Regions from separate parts of the Homo sapiens genome. Here all the other regions are linked to region 1. The links are contacts of gene promoters, found by promoter capture Hi-C in blood cells and fetal thymus (Javierre and others, 2016). All regions are on one chromosome and are shown on one strand. The core of a region is centred on a gene start or on the middle of the fragment in contact, and the rest is flanking DNA. Distances in the headings are between cores, read along the strand shown. Region 1 holds the start of MKKS (MKKS centrosomal shuttling protein). Region 2 has its middle 3.2 kb from the start of SNRPB2. Region 3 overlaps LOC124904875 (a long non-coding RNA gene).

Region 1 (4,537 bases), core at 633-3,132:
TAAATCTCCTCAGAGTCTGATTCTCAGGAAACCCAACCTAGGACAATCTAGAAACATCTTGCTCAATATCAATGTGCAATCACCCCTCAGTATTTGGGGGATTGCATCCAGGACCCATGATGGATACCCAAATCCAGATGCTCAGGTCCCTGATTTAAAAATTGTGTAGTAGGCCAGACGCCGTGGGTCATGCCTGTAATCCCAGCACTTTGGGATGCCGAGGCGGGTGGATCACCTGAGGTCAGGAGTTCAAGACCAGCCTGGCCAACATGGCGAAACACCATCTCTACTAAAAAATACAAAAATTAGCCAGGTGCAGTGGCGGGTGCCTGTAATCCCAAACTTCTCCGGAGGCTAAGGCAGGGAGAATTGCTTGAACCCGGGAGGCGGAGGTTGCACAGTGAGCAGAGATCCAGCTTCAGCCTGCGCGACAGAGCGAGACTCTTTGTCAAAAAAAAAAAAAAAAAAAAAAAAAATCGTGTAGTTTTGTACACAACTTGCCACCTCCTTCCATGTACCTTAAATAATCTCTAGGCTACTTATAATACCTAATACAACGTTAAATGCTATGTAAGTAGTTGTTACACTGCAGTGTTTAGGGAATGACAAGAAAAAAGGTCTGCACGTGTTCAGTACAGATGTAACCATCTTTTTTCCCCCAGAATGTTTTTATTTATTTATTTTCTTAAATAGAGTCTCTGTCGCCCAACCTGGAGTGCAGTGGCGTGATCTCCGCTCACCGCAACCTCCGCCTCCAGGGCTCAAGCGATTCTCCTGCCTCAACCTCCCAAGTAGCTGGGATTACAGGCGTGCGCCACTGCGCCCGGCTCATTTTTTTGTACTTTTAGCAGAGACCGGGTTTCGCCACGTTGGCCTGGCTGGCCCCAAACTCCTGACTCAAGTGATCCGCCCGCCTCGGGCTCCTAAAGTGCGGGGTTACAGGGGTGAGCCACCAAACCCCGCCGCCCCAAAATATTTTCTATCCGCAGTTGGTTGAATTCACACATGCGGAACTCATGGATAGGGAGCGTATTGTTTCTCCCCCATCACTAGAACATGGAGTCAGGACCGTGCAAGTCCCTCTTGGTCACTGCCGTATCTACTAACTCGGCAGTGCTGTAGACACGTGTATATCTGTTTATGGATAAACTGAAGATGTTAATGAATGAATGAAACCGTCATATTGAGTCTCTGAAACGGCAACAGGATTTGGGTATGGTCTTATCGGGGAGGAAGACGAGCATGACCTTAGAGGGTCATCCCTACAAGGTCCACAGCCCTGCAAGCCCCGCGGCTGCTTTCACGTAGCTGGCAGGGCCACGCTGCACAACGTCTCTAACGCCGTCGGAGGGCGGCCCCCACCTCCCGACAGCCTGGGGTACACCGTGCACCCTCCAGACAGTCAGGGGCACACGGGGCCCCTCCCAGCGAGGGAGGGGACGGGGAGTCACAGGTTCGGCGTAGAAGGCGGCAGCGCAGGTGGGAGCGTGGTGAGGCGCCACTCCTCCAGCTCTCCCCACCGGCGGGAAGACCTCCTCGCCGCCCGCATCCGTGCCGACCGCAACATTTACCATCGGCAGCTATTTCAGAGGTCGGTCTTTCGCCTCCTACAGAGAGCCAGCCTCCTCCTTGTCCCCGCCCTCAAATATCCTTCAGTGAGGACACCGGTGACCTTTGGGGGTGGAGAGGGAGGCGCCTACAAGCCCCTTCCCCTCTCTTCGGCCGGACACAAAGCGGGCTTTTCCACCTAGAGTCCCAGCGCTCTCACCTGCGCACCAGCCGTCGCGCCGCCCCAGGCCGCCACCGCCAGAGGCCCCAGAAACAGATCTCAAGCAGCCGCTGCTGCCGCGGATCCCGACAACCTTCGCGTCGCGCGAGGGCACGGAGCACGCGCAGCTCTGCGGTCGACGCCGGGCCGCCCCCACTCCGCTTCTCCGGGTTTTCCGTGAAGCTCCAGCCAACAGCGGCCGTCACCGGAAAAAACGGGGAGCGAAGTTTATTCAGCGTATATTCCAGCAAATTGTTGAAACTGAAATTTTAAAAGAACGCATAAAATTTAAATAACATATCAAAATGGCACAGCTTCTGCCTTTTGGTGAGCGCTTGACAATGATTTATTGAATGAAAGAAAGAAATAGTCCACTGCGCTCTGCTCTCTGTCCTGACATGACCAATTACAAAGCGCTTGGATTTGTCGCTCAGCGCCAGTATCCCGCCTCTCTGTGCGGTTGTCTGGAAAATCAGGATTTTTACTCTCCCGTAACTCCCGGGATCGGGTTTGGAAAACGGACATGCGCCGTGAGAGCTAGTTGCCTTCTACTAAAGCATCCGCCCTCAGTCCTTCCTGAGGGCTTACAGGGAAGTGCGGAGTTTCGCAGCTCGTACTCTTCACAGATTAGATAATTCACCCGGCATTTCCCCATCCTGCTTCTGGGTTCCAGGACAAAACTTTTATTCTCTTTTAACATTAAAAAACATATAGGAAGTTATGTTCAAACATGGCTATTTTTATTAAAATTTATCCGGCACTGTGAAAGCTACCTTTCCTTTCTCACAATCTTTCGCACCGAATATATGTTCCATTCTTGAGCTAGTCATTTTCCAATGTTAAGAAAACACACCACAGAAAAGCGTTTTTTTTTCTCTCGGTCAGTTCAACTGCCTAGCACCGTGAGTTACCATGATACGTTATTTGCTAATGAGAGTCATTGGGGTCCCAGCCTTTAAAAATAGCCTGCGTCCGGCGCCATTTTTGTTTTGGGCCCACTTTGAAAGCCGCGATATTCTGAACAGAGGCCATTTTTCTTTTGGGCAGATTCCACGGGCCATCGAAGTGTTTCGCTGCCATCTTAAATCCTGGCTGTGGCCTCAATCCTGCAGCGAAGCTGCCCAGATCATTTTGTGTTTGGGCGGCGGCTGAGTTCCCAAACGCGCGCGGAGACCCTGGGAAGGAGGAAGTAAGCGCGAAAGTGCTTCCCTTAAGCTTCTGAAGGTTGGCTGCAGTTCCGGCTACCTGTGTAGTCCGAGTTTCCACAGCCAGGTACTACTCCGCCAGTGACCCTGGACAGTAACAAAACATATAAAGCCCGAGCCCAAACCCCGCCACCATCATAGGTAAGCACATGGACCTCTGACAACCTCAGATGTTCCTTCAAGTGAACTGAACTGTTTGCCCATCTCCTCCCTCCTGGTTTTTGGCTTTGATTTTTTGAGACTTTTCCGAATCCTTCTCCCTGTACTTCCACCTTTCTTCATTGTTTTCAAAAAGCCAAAAAGTTGCTAAACATCAGGATGCCATGAGCATGGGCATTACGGTGGAGATATTATTCAGGAAAGTTAACTGTCTTTGCACAAAGGGAATGCAGTAGATGGGCCAGGTATTTGTATCAAATCATGGCTACCTGCATCCAGCAGTACAAATACCTCCCCCTTCCCAGACATTTTTGGAGATGTGAGGTAAATACAGATTGCGTTTGTATATACTTCCCATTCATTCATTTATTCATTGCATTTCTTGAGTACCTAATTTGTGCTAGGCCATAAGGATTCAGGAGTTAGCTAAAAAAAATCCATTAACTCATGGAGCCTACATTTTATCACCTTGACATCTACTAGGTTGAGACAAATAACAGTATTTTATGGTTCTTAGCACTGCTAGACTGTATAAACAAGTATTTGCTTTCTCCTTCCCCTGAACTATTTTTTTTTATTTTTAGTTTTTAATTTTTTTGGCCGGGTGTAGGAATTAATGGTATTGACACTTACTTCTTGGATCCTAGACATAACGATATTTGTAAGCCAGTTGGCTAGCGTTAAAACTAATATTCCAGTTACTTAGGGCCTTGTTGCTCCAAGTTCATTTCACCTACCACCAGCATCAGCATCCCTGGGAGCTTGTTAGAATTACACTTCATGACTCTCACCCCAGAGCTGCTGAATCAGAATCTTCCTCAAGAAGTGTACCTTAAAGTTCAAGGAACATTGATTCAGGGCATGGGCTAAAGATACAGCCCTTTCTTTCTTTCTTTTTTTTTTTAGATGGAGTCTCGCTCTGTTGCCCAGGTTGGAGTGCAGTGGCGCGATCTTGGCTCACTGCCATCTCCGCCCCCCGGGTTCAAGCAATTCTCCTGCCTCAGCGTTCCCAGTAGCTGGGATTACAGGCGCGCGCCACCACCCCCGGCTAATTTTTGTATTTTTAGTAGAGACAGGGTTCGCCATGTTGGCCGGGTTGTTCTCGAACTCCTGACCTCAGGTGATCCACCCGCCTTGGCCTCCAAAGTCCTGGGATCACAGGCCTGAGACATCACGCCCGGCCTGGCCCATTCTTTGTTCAACCCGTGCTTCTTAACTAGATTCACAGTGTATTATCAATTTATTGCATGTTCTAAATGCAATGGATATTTGACAGGTTTTTTTCTGTGCTTTTAGTTCATTGACTTGATGTTAGGGCGTCAATTTAGCTTTCCAAAAAGTTGAAAAGAGATTTTGTCATCCCAATATACTTATATGTAATTTCTGTTATAACATCTGAAATGTA
Region 2 (4,537 bases), core at 788-3,287, 6.3 Mb after region 1:
ACTAAAAACAGTTTATAGTTGTGAAATAGTCCAAAATTCTTTCTTTCTTTTTTTTTTATTTTTGAGACAGAGTCTTGCTCTGTTGCCCAGGCTGGAGTGCAGTGGCACGATCTCAGCTTACTGCAACCTCCGCTTCCTGGGTTGAAGCAATTCTCCCTCAGCCTCCCAAGTAGCTGGGATTACAGGAGCATGCAACATGCCTGGCTAATTTTTGTATGTTCAGTAGAGATGGGGTTTCACCATGTTGGCCAGGCTGGTCTTGAACTCCTGACTTCAAGCAATCTGCCTGCCTCGGCATCCCAAAGTGCTGTGATTACAGGCTGGGTGTGAGCCACCACGCCCAGCCAAGAATTATTTCTCAGAGGTGATTTTGATCAATGTATAAAGTCAGGAGGCGCTAGGCTATGCTGCATTAACAAATATCCCCTAAATATCAGTTAATTATTTCTTGCTTTTATTACATGACCAGTTTGAATTTGTGTGTGTGTGTGTGTGTGTGTGTGTGTGTGTGTGTGTGTGTGTGTGTTGGGCAGGAGGAGGGTGTCCTTTAATCATTAGTGCCTACACTTGACAGAGGTTCCATCTTGCAATATGTTTCCAAGATCACAAGGACAGGAAAAAGGGCACCTGGCAAATTGTGCACTGGCCTGTGATGCTCCTACTTGGAAGTGATGCATGTCTCATGCTCTCACAATTCATTAGCCAAAGCAGTGACTTGGCCATGCCAATTTTCAAAGGATGTAGAGTAGTGCAAGCCCTCCATGAGCCTGGAAGGAGCAAGAATCACAGTATTTGTGAAGAGCTGAAATGACTACCACAAATTAGAAAGTGACCCAGGGCTCCCCAAATAAGCAATCACCTGTTAAAAAGAATAAATATTCCAGACTTTCTTTCTCTCCAGGTTTATGTCTACATGCCCAGTAGAAGACAGTTAAAATAAAGTTTCAAATAAATACGAGCTCCTTTGAAAGAAATAGTTGATTTGTGTTTCAAAAGGAAGATAGTATTCTGTATCTGGTAGTATCTCTATGGCTCTAGAGATAACTACAGTTTGATACTAGAATAATCTACCAACCATTTTTTTCTTTTTTCTTTTCTTTCTTTTTTTTTTTTTTGAGATGAGGTCTTGCTCTGTTACTCAGGCTGGAGTGCAGTGGTGTGATCTCAGCTCACTGCAACCTCCACCTCACAGGTTCAAGCAATTCTCCCACCTTCCCACCTCAGCCTCTGAAGTAGCTGGGACTACAGGCATGCACTATGGCACCAGACTAATTTTTGTGTGTGTATATATATATTTTTTTTAATTTTTTATTTTTTTAATAGAGATGGGGTTTCACAATGTTGGTCAGGCTGGTCTCAAGCTCCTGACCTCAAGTGATCCACCCACCTCAGCCTCCCAAAGCTCTAGGACTACAGGCATGAGCCACCATGCCTGGCCTACCAACCATTCTTTTTTTTCTTCTTTTTTTTTTTTTTTGAGACAGAATCTGACTCTGTTGTCCAGGCTGGAGTGCAGTGGCATGATCTTGGCTCACTGCAACCTCCACCTCCTGAGTTCAAGCGATTCTCCTGCCTCAGCCTCCAGAATAGCTGGGATTACAGGCGCCTGCCACCACGCCCAGCTAATTTTGTATTTATAGTAGAGACAGGGTTTCACTGTGTTGGCCAGGCTGGTCTCGAACTCATAACCTTGTGATCCGCCTGCCTCGGCCTCTCAAAGTGCTGAGATTACAAACTGAGCCACCGCGCCCGACCCCAACCATTCTTAAAAAAGAAATGCTTAGGTTCTTGCTACCCAAAATGCGGTATGGGACCAGCAGCATCAGCATCATCCGGGAGTTTGCTACAAATGCAGCTTCTCAGCACTGGATTAAGATATCTGGGGAATGCCCAAGAAATCAACAATATATCACTTTTGAAATTACACAATCAGGGCCTGACAGTCTTTTTTTTTTTTTAAAGCTGTTCTTTTTAAATTTTGTGTTTTCAAACTGTCCTAAGGCTTAAGACTCAAAAAAAATTACAGGGATTAATCATAGGGGAAGCAAAACCCATTATATTTAAAAGTTGTGTGTGCATAATATTTTATTTCATGGGAGCATCTCATGGGACTGAAATCTTAATTTTCTAGTCTCAAAGAGAACGACAGTTGTATGATGCTACTTTAGCTCCTTTAGGGAAGGGCAGGTGATACAATACTGAGCACAACCTACATGTCTCACAAAAAGTTCACCAAAAAAGTTCAGGTTTTCCCCACACTTCTTTGGATTAATGATCAGGTCCTCAAAGAAAAACTACCATTTCCAAACTTTATGGAATGTGCACATTCTCATAGCCTATCTGAGACATCACCCATTCTGGGGAGAGGGTATTTTGCTGCATGTGAAAGACACACTATTCTTAACATTAATACAGTAGTGAACATCAGAGGCAATAGTCATATTTGGGTTTCTTTCATTCCTAAAAGCAAGAATGTATCCACAAAGAATGAAATGTAAGAATTAAGTAAAATGAAAGAAAATTGCACAAAATTATTTCCTCCCTGAATTGGGGGTGGGAGAGTGGTGCTTTTTAGGAAGTTTCAGTCAACATTATCCCAACCTCCCTGGAAAACATAAACCTGATTTGGTGCTCAACAATAACGCCTAGATTTGTTTAATGCTTGTTGTGAAAATAATTTCACTCTAGATACATTTCTTAATGTAATCACCACCTGGGGAGAGAAAGAAGATACAAACGAATTGCCATACATTTTGTGACTCTATGTAACATAAATAAGACAAAATTTATCCACCAGTTTTATGGTGCATTTTCCTTTATACATGGCTCCTTCTTAAAACTACTGCAGCAAGATACCAAAAACAATTAATGAGAAACATAAAACACGTGCAGATAAGGTAGGGAAATGTATGTGTATTCAGAGTCACTAAGAGACACCTCAGTTATCTTCCTTATAATTTAGACATCTTGGCACAGTTTTATTCCCTACTGTTTGTAGTAATTTTTCTGCTACTCCCAAAATAAGCAAGTTTTATCATCTGCAAATACATGACACTTGGATAGGGTGGTTATAACGCTGCCTCCTTGTTTCTCTCGATTAAAAAAAGCCTGTTTCACAGGAAAATAAATCACGATACCTAACCCAAATGTGAAAGAACAGACTGAGCAGAACTAACAAAACTCATTTGCTCTTCTAGTTTTTAAAAATGTGAGTTTTGGACATCTGATTCCTGATCTCACCCTCAAGAAGTGGATCTGGTTATAAAGTGATGATGTTTTACAGTACATGTGACCATAGTTTAGCTGCTATAATATTCTTAATATAGTTACATAGCCAGGCTATGCAAGGTTTCTCACAAAACCAGAAAAGCTATTCGATCCTTATCATTCCCTTCCTGTACTGTTCTCAATAACTGGCTTCTCAAATCGTTCAGGAAACCACTGAGAATCATTAACGGGTTATTGGAATGCCCAGAGTGACTGCCCAAGGACAGGAAAATGCACTGGCTCTTTTTAGAAGAACCTGGAAAAGTGCATGCAGACCATTGCGGCTGAGTTGGCAATGGATGATTTCCTTCTCACAGTGTAATGTACAATAGCTGTAATTTAATTGTTAATAGAACACAACATGCAGTCTGTCTTCAGGCCTCTGTGTTTCTTGTGGTATTTTCTTCCCAGGTTGGAGTGTTTTTGTATAATCACATCTTATTCTCTTTTAACAGTTATCAACTCTTGGCTAGATCCCCTTATACAATACAGAGTATAGTTTATTCTCAGTAGTGTAGCCATCCTCATTATTATCAAACAGAACTAATTGCTGAGATGCTCATAGTAATATGCAAAACAGCTTGTCCTTTGTTATTTAGAAATTGTTTATATTAAGTTTATATTCTCTTTTAATTTGTTAAAGATATAATTCTTTGACTGAGATAGGACATTTCTTCTCATTGGTTTATTTATTTTAGAGATGAGATCTCACTATGTTGCCCAGGATGATTTTGAACTCCTGGACTCAACCAGTCCTCCTGTCTCAGCCTCCCCAAATGCTAGGATTACAGGTGTGAGCTACTACACTCAGCCATTTCTTCTAGTTTTAGATCTATATAATAAAACGATGCTTTTCTGTGATCCCTTAACATTCTCTACACTCAGGTGCATGTTCAAAGCATATTTGTTTTACTGTTGCCTAGTTTTCCATGTCATTCATTGAATTATCCAATGCATATTAATTATCAGTCACTTTTCCCATTACTAAGGGTACTTGAGTGAACAGAGCAGACAAAAACCCCACCCTTAAAAAGCTTATATTATTTTCAAGTTGTTGCAACTTTGGGTGTTTTTAAAAAATAAAAATTCCCAGCTGATAAAACCAACTTATTTGACAGCTACCTGCCTCACCAGTAGAACCAAGTTATAGCCAGAATTCAGAAATAACATTTTTGAGCATTTATTGTGTCTGACAATGTGCCAATCACTTTACATTTATTTTAGCTCATTTAATGCTTACAACAACTAGAAGGAGGTACTATTAGGATCC
Region 3 (4,537 bases), core at 626-3,125, 6.1 Mb after region 1:
AATCTCTATTTTGAAAACTTTTTTAATGGACGAAAACTTTTGAGTGACTTAAGCTCTCTGAGTCTTAGCTTCTTCATTTCCACGCAAAATAGCACTGTAATAGAATGTTCACTCCACCGCAAAATATTTGAATCATCAGGGAATACTGTTATCAGAAGAAAAATACTGTATTTCTCATGAGCTGTGCTTTTTCTTCATCCTAGCCTCTGAGGAATAAAATTGATTTACTTTCTTACAAACATGACTTTTAAAAAATCTTGATGAACATCAGACTGGCACGCTTAAATTGGGACGAAGGATATAACTGACACCTCATAAACCCATCGATTTCCCTATGTGCTAGAAGCACTCACCAGAAGCATTATATCACATGATACACTTAGTGTCTCCTACAGGAGTGCCTTACACCAAGGGACTTAAGTTGAATTTAAGAGCTATGTGGTGAGCCAATGAGAAAAACAAGTGTTTTCCTGGTTTTCAAATAAATGTATAATAAATAGTAGTACCAGAGACAGGAATCACAGATACCAAGTCCAAACCCAGCACCAATTTTTTTTTTTTTTTTTTTTTTTTTGATACAGAGTCTTGTTCTGTCCCCCACGCTGGAGTCCAGTGGCGCTATTTTGGCTCACTGCAACCTCCACCTCCCGGGTTCAAGTGATTCTCCTGCCTCAGCCTCCCAAGCTGCTGAGATTACAGGTGCCTGCCACCACACCTGGCTAATTTTTGTATTTTTAATAGAGACAGGATTTCACCATGTTGGCCAGGCTGGTCTCAAACTCCTGGCCTGAAGTGATTCACCTGCTTTGGCCTCCCAAAGTGCTGGGGTTACAGGTGTGAGCCACTGCGTCTGGCCTACGATTTTCATTTTCTAAGTCACAAAATTTAAAGTATATTTAGAATCTTCTAAAATACTAAACATTAAAAGCAGGAATAATTTGAAAAAGTATACTTTGGGGCTAGAGAGAAAATCTGAGCTCCAAAATCACAGTAAAGATAATTGCAAAAATCGTACTAAGTAATTTTAGTAAAGCTTTAGGCAGGTAACCATGAATGCCTGCTTTCTTTTATAGCAAAAGTGAATAAAGAAATCACATTAGATTCAATTTAATAGACGCTATCACCCTAAATCATAGTCATTTTATATACTAAGATAAAAATGATTGTTTTCAATTGCATATAACTGTATGCAACCATATATATAAAACTATGTGGTCATAAATAGTTCAGAACTGATAGACTGTAGAGTCTGTGGCCTCATTTTAACTTCGAAAGAGTGAGAAACCATGTTTATTTAAAGTGATTGGGAAAAGTTTCATGGATGAATTAGTTTTGGAGATCGGTCTTGCAGGAGGGACAGATTTGAACCCAGAAAATGGTGAGGAGGTGACTTCTAAAGCAGAGGAAATTCCTTGAACAAATGTTTAGTGTTGGAAAAGCGAGTCCTGCTTCTGGAATAGTGAGAAAGCCTCTTTACCTGAAGCACAGTGTAAAGTTTAAAAATAGTTGTAAATGCTTCTCTTCCCTGGACTCATACCTTGCGATGTCATTTTGCAGCTCCCCTCAATGGGAAGTAGAATCTCTTTCTCCACCTCTTCAATATGGCTGGCCCTGGAACTTCCCTTGGCACACAGAATGCAGCAGAATTGGCTTCATGTTGTTTCTAAGCCTTGGCCTCAGAGGCCTTGCATGCTTCCTAACCCTGGCTCTAGGAAACTTGCTGCTGTCATGTAAGCAAGCCCAGGCTAACCTACTGAATGTTGGTGTGTCCCAGTCAAATCCAGCACTGCAACCAATAGCCAGGCAGCCACCAGACATGTGAGTGGGGCCACCTCACACCAGCCAACCTCCACCAAGTCATCAGATGTATGAGTGAGAACAGCCCAGAACAACTGAGCCCGTCCAGACCAGCGGAACAACCAAGCTGACCAGTAGACTTAGGAGCAGTAAACAGATGATTGTTATGGAAGCCATTCTGTTTAGGGTGTGTGTGTTATTGCTTGCATCCAAATACATCCTATCTCATCTAATGAGAAAAGGCCCTGCTCAAGGGCTTTTGCAGCTGTAGTTGGGCGCCGGAAGTGTCTTTGTGGTCATTTCTTACTCCATACACGGGGAGATCAAGGCTCAGACCAGGTAGTGTGACTGTGGACAACACTTTCCTTACCCCTCTGTGACACTTAAATCAATGAAGCAGATTCACAGAAGCATGCATGCTCACTGAACACAGTATTTGCATTCCTACCTCCAAACCTTTGCTCCACCCATGCATCCAGTAAGAATGCCTACTTCCCTCCTCTCCTCCATCGAGTTCTTTCTTTGAGTTCTACCTTCCCTAGTCTTCCTCCACTGCACCAACCCACGGTGATCCCTGTCTCTTCCAAATGCTTTGTAACATGGTAGGCATCACTCACTTGTGACTCATTGGACCATTTTAAAACTTGGTTTTCTGTGTCTCTTTTCCAACAAAATTACAAATTCTTTGAGGGTAAAAGTCAGGCCTAATAGTTCTCTGTACTCCTAGTAGTGCCAGTGTGGTAAAAATTTAACTTGACAATTAGCAAAACCAATAAATTCCTTACACTATTCTGTTCCTGTAGGTAATCAGTATATGAATATGGATTCCTATGTGATGATTTTCTGGTCTATTTTGTCCCTTTTTTTTTTTTGTTACTTTAACCAGGCCATAACATAAAGGTTATGCCATTTGTTACTGTCAAGCTTAATTAAGCCCATTATAATTCGTTAACCCCTGTGCTTGCTTTGTAATTAACATTGATTAACACAAACAAGTACAAAATAGGCCATCAGCACTTTCCAGAAGTGCTGATTACAATTACATTGGTAATTCAATACGGTATAGAAGATGGCAGGATAGTAACTTGCACTCTGTTTACATAAGGAGACAAATGCTACCATGCAAAACTAAGCCAAGAAACAAAATACTTTCCTCATCCAACTCACTGATTAAACCCTTACCCTGTTAACTCACCCTATGACTGTGTAAACCTCCAGTAAGATTATTGAAGGCACAGCTCCAAGTAACTTGCTTAATTGCATTCCTGGGACAAAAGAGGGAAGCGCTTCAAAGCTGACAGACAGATGGTAGAGTGTCCAGTCACAGCAAAGCAGGCCCCGAGGCTCATGACAGACAACTCCAGGGCTGAGATCTCATTTGTAGCTCTGGGATAAAGTCCAGGGTTTGATGGCAGCAGGCTGAAGTGTAAAGATGCTCAACAATGCGCACCCCAGAGACACTGAATCTGAAAAAGCTTAGAGTGAATAAAAATCTGGAAATGAACTCTGTCTGTCTATTCACCATTCCCCCCATAAAAAAATTCCTATATTCCGGATGGTGTTCAAGTTCCCTTTCCACAGGACCTCAGCAGTCAGGGAGGTGCTCCTGCAATCTATGTGAAGGAGATTTCACCATGCCCACATGGGAATACAGTAGATTGCCAGTAGGGATGCCACACCTTTGCATTTCCTCGTATTTCCAGGAACAAAGCTGGGGTGCCTAGGAGCTGCAGCAGTTTTTCTTCTGTGTAAAATAAGCAAGCAGGACTCTGCCCCACTGCACTCCAGGGAAGGATTAAGAGAATTGATATCATCCAAATCAATTGGCCCTGTGCAGATGACTTGATAATGAGGCCATTGAGTTTTTATGGTTCACTATTATTGCTACAAAAATTATGCTGCAGAAATCATTCAAATGCTCAAAAAGGAGCATTAGTACGAAACTGGGTGTTCCAAAGTTGTTGCTGAGAGGTGTGTAATGTTCCTGAAGATCCCCAAGGCACTAAGACTTCTCTGTACATGAATGACTCATAGAGAAGAAATACACCAGATGAAAATATATGGAGAAGTTTGCCGAATGTCATATAACTTGTAAGTATTAGAGCCGAGGTCTGAACCCTGATATCTGTGTCCTTATAGCTCAGGCCTTTTCCTTCAGCCCCTCCTTCTCAGCAGAGATGTGTTGGAGAAATCACTAGAAATGGAAGAGCAGCTGTCAGAAGCAGAATTGAATGAAGTGATAGGGGAAAAACATACATGTTGATACAAATGGTCAGCCTTAAGCAAGACTGTGACATTGATGCAGCACAGGGAAGCCTCAAAATTGGGACTTAGCCCAGGAGGGTTCTTGGCTTCACCCAGGAAAGAATTCAAGGGTGAGCTGGTGGTGTTAGAATGCAACTATTACTGAAGTGGCAGTGTACGGCAGTAGCAGAGGCACTGCTTGCGGAGCAGGGATACCCCAGAGGCACTGTGCCCAGAGTAGCAGCTCAGAGGCAGTTCTGCACTCATATTTATATCCACTTTTAATTATATGCAAATTAAGGGGTGGTTTATGCAGAAATGTCTAGGAAAGTGTGGTAACTTCTGGGTTGTTGGGTTGTTGCCATGGAAAGGGGTGATAACTTCTGGATGTTGCCATGGCACACTGATGGGTGTGCCTTATGGAAAGCTGGTCCTCAATTTGGTCCAGTGTCCCAGCCCCACACTGGAGTTGAGTCCTGCCTTCTACCTCAACTTT

The links. Contacts are between HindIII fragments. The CHiCAGO score rates a contact against its expected background, and 5 or more counts as called.
Region 2: a contact is called between a fragment that was not itself captured here and the fragment with the promoter of MKKS in region 1, in 3 of 17 cell types (non-activated CD4 T cells, total B cells and naive CD4 T cells). The highest score is 12.0, in non-activated CD4 T cells.
Region 3: a fragment that was not itself captured here is called in contact with the fragment with the promoter of MKKS in region 1 in 3 of 17 cell types (total B cells, non-activated CD4 T cells and naive CD4 T cells); the score reaches 11.4 in total B cells.

Annotation. Positions count from the first base shown.
Region 1 is chr20:10,432,340-10,436,876 of GRCh38, forward strand. MKKS (MKKS centrosomal shuttling protein) reads right to left here and starts at 1,883. Exons shown (of 6, transcript NM_170784.3): 1 at 1,769-1,883. It overlaps SLX4IP (SLX4 interacting protein), which reads left to right and starts at 2,966. Exons shown (of 8, transcript NM_001009608.3): 1 at 2,966-3,114. LOC128706665 reads right to left here and starts at 1,883. Exons shown (of 3, transcript NM_001394148.2): 1 at 1,769-1,883. It overlaps LOC128706666, which reads right to left and starts at 1,883. Exons shown (of 3, transcript NM_001394149.2): 1 at 1,769-1,883. RefSeq lists enhancers at 1,730-1,789, 2,680-2,909, 3,070-3,119. The HindIII fragment of the contact is 4,604 bases long and covers 1-2,981 here.
Region 2 is chr20:16,724,600-16,729,136 of GRCh38, forward strand. No RefSeq gene overlaps it. Among named protein-coding and RNA genes, the nearest start is that of SNRPB2, 3.2 kb to the right of the region's middle. The HindIII fragment of the contact is 4,524 bases long and covers 1-4,299 here.
Region 3 is chr20:16,577,322-16,581,858 of GRCh38, forward strand. It overlaps LOC124904875 (a long non-coding RNA gene), which reads left to right. Exons shown (of 2, transcript XR_007067539.1): 2 at 1,558-2,038. Among named protein-coding and RNA genes, the nearest start is that of KIF16B, 6.1 kb to the left of the region's middle. RefSeq lists an enhancer at 4,055-4,224. The HindIII fragment of the contact is 1,688 bases long and covers 1,032-2,719 here.